Linked DNA regions of Homo sapiens: region 2 is linked to region 1. The links are contacts of gene promoters, found by promoter capture Hi-C in human tissues and cell types (Jung and others, 2019). All regions are on one chromosome and are shown on one strand. The core of a region is centred on a gene start or on the middle of the fragment in contact, and the rest is flanking DNA. Distances in the headings are between cores, read along the strand shown.

What was found. Contacts are between HindIII fragments. The study calls those that stand out against the background at their distance.
Region 2: a fragment that was not itself captured here is called in contact with the fragment with the promoter of COPG1 in region 1 in 2 of the 25 tissues and cell types used here (aorta and hippocampus).

Annotation. Positions count from the first base shown.
Region 1 is chr3:129,248,107-129,251,368 of GRCh38, reverse strand. COPG1 (coat protein complex I subunit gamma 1) reads right to left here and starts at 1,763. Exons shown (of 24, transcript NM_016128.4): 1 at 1,623-1,763; 2 at 635-687. The coding sequence starts at 1,659. The HindIII fragment of the contact is 12,995 bases long and covers 1-3,262 here.
Region 2 is chr3:129,200,922-129,203,848 of GRCh38, reverse strand. No RefSeq gene overlaps it. Among named protein-coding and RNA genes, the nearest start is that of CNBP, 18 kb to the right of the region's middle. The HindIII fragment of the contact is 6,057 bases long and covers 1-2,927 here.

The DNA.
Region 1 (3,262 bases), core at 514-3,013:
AATATATATAATAAAAATAAACAAGTCATGCAAAATCTCTACCTGCATAATGGCCACAGTCTAGCTTAGGTGATAGTTTTAAACCAGTTTCCTTAGCTTTGGAATTAACTTTAAATAGAGAAATTTTTTAAATGTTTAAATAGAGAGGCCAGGCGCGGTGGCTCAAGCCTGTAATCCCAGCACTTTGGGAGGCCGAGGCGGGTGGATCACGAGGTCAGGAGATCAAGACCGTCCTGGCTAACGCGGTGAAACCCCGTCTCTACTAAAAATACAAAAAATTAGCCGGGTGTGGTGGCGGGCGTCTGTAGTCCCAGCTACTTGGGAGGCTGAGGCAGGAGAATGGCGTGAACCTGGAAGGCGGAGCTTGCAGTGAGCCGAGATCACGCCACTGCACTCCAGCCTGAGCGACAGAGCAAGACTCTGTCTCAGAAAAAAAAAAAAAAAAAAAAAAAAAAAGAAGTAAGCATAACTAACTCTCTCCAGAAACAAAGTTTTCCTGTCTTCCAGAAAACTTCCAGGCACAAGTTTTCTCCCGTGTTGCTCTTTAAAACAACACTTTGAATGTGTTGGTATTTCAGTTGCATTGGTGGTGAATATTTATGATGGAAGCTAGAGGGGAGCAAATGTCACTTGCCTCCTGGAGTACCGCACTCTTCTCAAGGTGCTGGAATGGGTTGGAGCCTCCACCTACGGTCAAGGACAATGGAGAAGGTAGGTTGTGACTCTGAACTTCAAAACTCTCCCAGACATAGGTAAAGGGAAGATGTCCCTTCCTAGGAAATCTAGTAAAGTTCAAACTCCTCAGGAATGGCAATCAAGCCTCTACAATCTGTCTAGGGATCCTACTAGTCTCCTGCAAGCAGGTGGGCTCCACTCTACCCCAAACCACTCACAATCTCCCAGCAGCCCTGGTACAGTCCTGTGCTTCTCATGGTGCCATGTCTTGTGTTCATTTATATAACTTGTAATTAACTAAGTCCCTATGTGCCAGGGACCACCATCTCGTTGTAACTAGTTCCTTCATAGCAGATGACACATTTGCAAATAATTACACGTGTGATTATCTGGTTGATGTCTGCCTCCTCCATCGTGGGTGCAACCATTCTAATATTCCTAGCTCAGGCACTGAGTGTCCCACTTGCTCTGTTGCAGTATCCAGGACACCGTACAGTACCTGGCATACAGTAACTGCTCAATATACTTTGCTGAATAAATGAATGATGGGGTCAGAGTTCCCAGTCACAGGACGCTGGCTCCGCAGGTTACACCCCAGTTTGGCCAGCACCAACGTAGCCCCAGCGAATCCCAAGAGGTTGGACGAAGAAAGTAACAAGAGAACATTCGGCATGGTCCCCTCCTTTGACAGATGGGTAAATTGAGGCCTGGGGGGGGGGGTGTTTGTCGCGCCCAAGGTCACCCAGAAAATTGCAGTCCGAGCTTACAAGAGTGAGACAGCCGCGCATGCTCGGGCTCTCCGAGGCCTGCCACTGACTAGCTGTGGACCCTGGCACAAGCCCCTGCCCCTCACTGGGCCTCAGCCTCCGGGTCAGGACAGAGAACCAGAAGGAAAGCTCGGCGGGTGGGGGTCCGGCCTCCCTCAGACCCAGGCCTGGCCCCCTCACCTGACTCCTCATCCTTCTTGTCGAATTTCTTCAACATAGTGGAGTCGGTGGGGCGCAATGCAGCAACGCAATGCTCGACGGGCGCGGCACGGAGTAGCGGTGCCACAGTGGTTCTACAGGGACCACTTCCGGGCCCCGACTGGCCACGTCGCCCAGCGCTCTGCGCAGGCGCATTCCGCGCTCTGCGCCTGCGCTCTTTCCGGTAGCCACAGCCTCGTCTAATGTTAACCTTAGCTCCGCCGGAGCGGGAGTGGGGAAAGCCAGACGGAGGGGCAAGGGCTAGGTGCAGGGGGGTACTGACTAGCATCCCAACTCTGCTCCCTACGCTTCTTTCCGTATACCAAGGGAGGAGGAGGAGCCCCTGCCTCGTTGCGTTGTGGCGTGAGTCTTTGTGGCTTTCGGGTGTGAGGTTGGTGGCACACACTGGCCCGCAGTAAACACCCAATTGATGTGACCGGTCTATGACTGTTATTGCCACCTTCCGAAGGAGCCTTGCCAGCCACTCACTCCTCGCTTTCAGATTCTTTCCCCTGCCTGATTTCCTCCTCAGCTCGAATCGCCATCTAACACTTTATTTTTACTTTCTGGCTTTTATTTGTTTATTTATTTCTCGTTCTGCTGCCCAGGCTGTGGTGCAGTTGTGCGATCCTGGCTCACTGCAGCCTACAGTTCCTGGGCTCAAGCGATCCTCCCACCTCAGCCTCCCGAGTAGAGCTGGGCGCACCACCCCCGACTAATTTTTTAATTTTTGTAGAGACGAGGTCTCACTATGATGTTGCCCAGTCTGGTCTTGAACTCGTGGCCTCAAGCGATCCTCCTTTCTCGACCTTCCAAAGTGCTGGGATTACAGCGGTGAGCCACTGCACCCGGCCACTTTCTTGCTCTTTTGTTTTTTTTTTTGTTATTTGCTTGTTTGTTTGTCTTTTATTCACTGCAGTGGATAATGTTGGCACATAGTAGTTGCTCAGTGAGTTCTCGTTGAATGAATGCGTGCAATTGCATTTTTAATTTATATCTGCCGGGCCCTATCTCGTCTGCTCCTGATGCAAATTGCCTTGTACATTATCAACCTTAAGAGATCTAACTAAACAGCATAGAACTTCTACGTTATTTTGTAAATACTTTGGATATTTATGGAGTGCCAACTAGATGCGCTGCCTACGCGGGGAGGTGGGGGGAAGGGCGTGGGAAGGAACGGAAAGGGGAAAATGACACATCACCCAGGGTTTATCTTCCTGGGGACCTATGCAGGACACCCTGAGGCTAAGGTAAGCACAGTGCATGCCAGTGAGCCAGATTGCATTGGCAATGGCAAAGTCGTGATGGCCAAGCGCTGCGACACGGCCCCAGCTTGCCTGGGGAGGGGAAGCCCGCAGGCCTGTGGGCAGGAGAAGGAGTGGGCTGTGGAGAGGAGAGGCAGGAGGCTGAGGCAGAGGCCCCAGGTGAAAAGGGTGACCGCAAAGCTGGAGGAAGGGAGATGTCAGAGGGGCCAGCCCTTAGGGTCTGGCTTTGCAGAGGCTAGGGCCAAGGACAACAGATCTTGTGACATGCAAAATTGTCAAGAGTCAGAAAGATGTTCAAAATGTCTGATCGGTAACCCCACCCCTAATCAGGAGGAAATTGTTCAAAAGAAGAAAATG
Region 2 (2,927 bases), core at 355-2,854, 47 kb after region 1:
TAAATAAATTAACAAAAATTTAAATATAAAGCAACTATTATCAATATGTTAAAGGTTACAACAGACATAATGAATGAAAAGATTAGTTATTGCTGGAGAGAAATGGAAACTTAAAAGTAGCCAGGCTGGGCATGGTGGCTCACACCTATAATCCCAGCAGTTTGGGAGGTCAACATAGGAGGATCACTTGAGGCCAGAAGTTCAAAACCAGCCTGGCCAACATGGTGAAACCCCATCTTTATTAATAATACAAAAATTAGCTGGGCATGGTGGCATGCACTTGTAATCCCAGCTACTTGGGAGGCTGAGGCAGGAGAATCACTTGACCCTGGGAGGTGAAGGTTGCAGTGAGCCAACATTGCGCCACCACACTCCAGCCTGGACGACAGAGTGAGACTCCATCTCAAAAAAAAAAAAAAAAGAAAGAAAAGAAATACCTGAGACTGGGTATTTTATTGAGAAAAGAGGTTTAATTTCTCACAGTTCTGTAGGCTGTACAAGCATGGCACCAGCATCTATCTTATCAGCTTCTGGGGAGGCCTCGGGGAGCTTTCACTCATGATGGAAGGTGAAGCAGGAGCAGGCACATCATCACATGGTGAAGGCAGGAGCAAGACAGTGTAGGGGGAAGGTGCCACACGCTTAAACAACCAATCTTATGATAACTCACTCACCATTGCAAGGACAGCACCAAGCCATGAGGGATCTGCCCCATGACCCAAACCCCTCCACCAGGCCCCACCTCCAACATTAGGGATTACATTTCAACATGAGATTTGAGTGGCGACAAATATCCAAACTATATATCATATGCCCTTAGGGAATTGCAAATTAAAACAAAAATGAGATACTATTACACATCTATTAGAATGGCCAAAATCTAAAACACTGACAATATCAAATGCTGACAAGGATGTTGAGCAACAGGAACTCTCATTCATTGCTCAGGGGAAGGGCAAATGGTACAGACACTTTGGAAGACAATTTGGCAGTTTCTTACAAAAATTAAATATACTCCTACCATATGAACCAGCAATTTGCTTTGTGGTTATTTAACCAAATGAACTGAAAATATGTCCACAAAAAACCTGCACACAGATGCTTATACCAGCTTTATTCATGATTGTCAAAACTTGGAAGCCACCAAGATGTCCTTCAGCAGGTGAATGGATAAACTGTAGTACATTCAGACAATGGAATAGCATTCAGCACTAAAAAATGAACTATCAAGACATGAAAAGACATGGAGGACCCATAAACGCGTATCACTAAGTGAAAGATGCCAATCTGAAAAGGCTACATACTGTGTGATTCCAAATACTGTACATAACAGTCTGGAAAAGCAAAAATACGGAGAAGTCCAGGTTGCCAAGGATTAGGAGAGAGTGATGAATAGGCAGAGCACAGAGATTTTGGGGGCAGTGACAACCACTCTGTATGATACTACAAAAGTGGATACATATCGTTATACTTTTGTCCAAACCCATATAATGTATGGCACCAAGAGTGAACCCTAATGTAAATTATGAACTTTTGGGGGTAATGATGAATCAGTGAAAGTTCATTGATTGTAACAAATCTATCACTCTAGTGGAGATGCTGATCCTTGTTTATGCATGTGTGGGGGCAGGGAATGAATGGGAACTCTGTACTTTCTGCTCAATTTTGCTATGAACTTAAAACTGCTCAAAACAATGTTCTGGGCTGGCCACCATGGCTCACACCTGTAATCTCAGCACTTTGGGAGGCCAAGGCACTTTGCATCACTTTACTCAGGAGTTTGAGACCAGCCTGAGCAACACAGTGAAACTTCATCTCTATCAAAATTTTTAAAAAACCCAATGTTCTGGAATTAGTGATAACAACTAATTTGATGTCATGGCACTATGAATGTACTAAAACCTACTGAATTGTACATTTTAAAAGGGTGGCTTTTATGGTATGTCAATTATATCTCAATAAAGCTGTTATTAAAAAGACACTATTTCACAAGATTATTGTGTGGATTAAACAAGATCATGTGGCATTTTGTATATGTCTGTTATAATACTTGGTAAATACTGTTTTGTAAATACTTGTTGCCTTCTACCCATAGACATTAACAGCTGCAGAGCCTGGCCTGGGCTGTCTTTTCAACTTTAGTTTTATTTTTATATTTTACTTTTTAGAGACAGGGTTTCACTCTGTTGTCCAGGCTGGAGTGCAGTGGCACGATCATGGGTCACTGCAGACTTGACCTGTTGGGCTCAAGCAATCCTCCTGCCTTGGCCTCCTAAGTAAGCTGGGAGTACAAGCACCCACACCACCACTGGCTAAGCTTTGTATCCTCAGTGTTTAGCTTAATACCTGGCATTTGGTGCTTAAGGAAGGAATTGCAGGTGAGAGACAAAGTAGAGAGAAGGACCACAGATGACTCCAAGGCTTCTAATCTGGACTAACAGATGAGTGGTGGCTGACACAGACTTTAAAATGATAAGCTGGTTTTGTTTGCTTGTTTGTATATTTGGTAAAGTACATTGTAGTTTAAATGAGTTGTATTTGAACAGTGTGTGGAAATGCCCGGTTTAATCTATCCAAATTTTAAGTAAAGATACAAGTCCCAAATTCAAAAAGGAGGTGAGGGCTGGGTGTGGTGGCTCACACCTGTAATCCCAGCACTTTGGGAGGCCAAAGCGGGTGGATTATCTGAGGTCAGGAGTTAGAAACCAGCCTGGCCAACATGGTGAAACCCCATCTCTACTAAAAAAAAAAAATACAAAATTAGCTGGGCGTGGTGGCACATGCCTGTAATCCCAGCTATTTGGGAGGCTGAGGCAGGAGAATTGCTTGATCCTGGGAGGCGGAGTTTGCAGTGACCCGAGATTGTGCCATTGCACTCCAGCCTGAGCAACAAGAGTGAAACTCCATCTTAAAACAAACAAACAAAC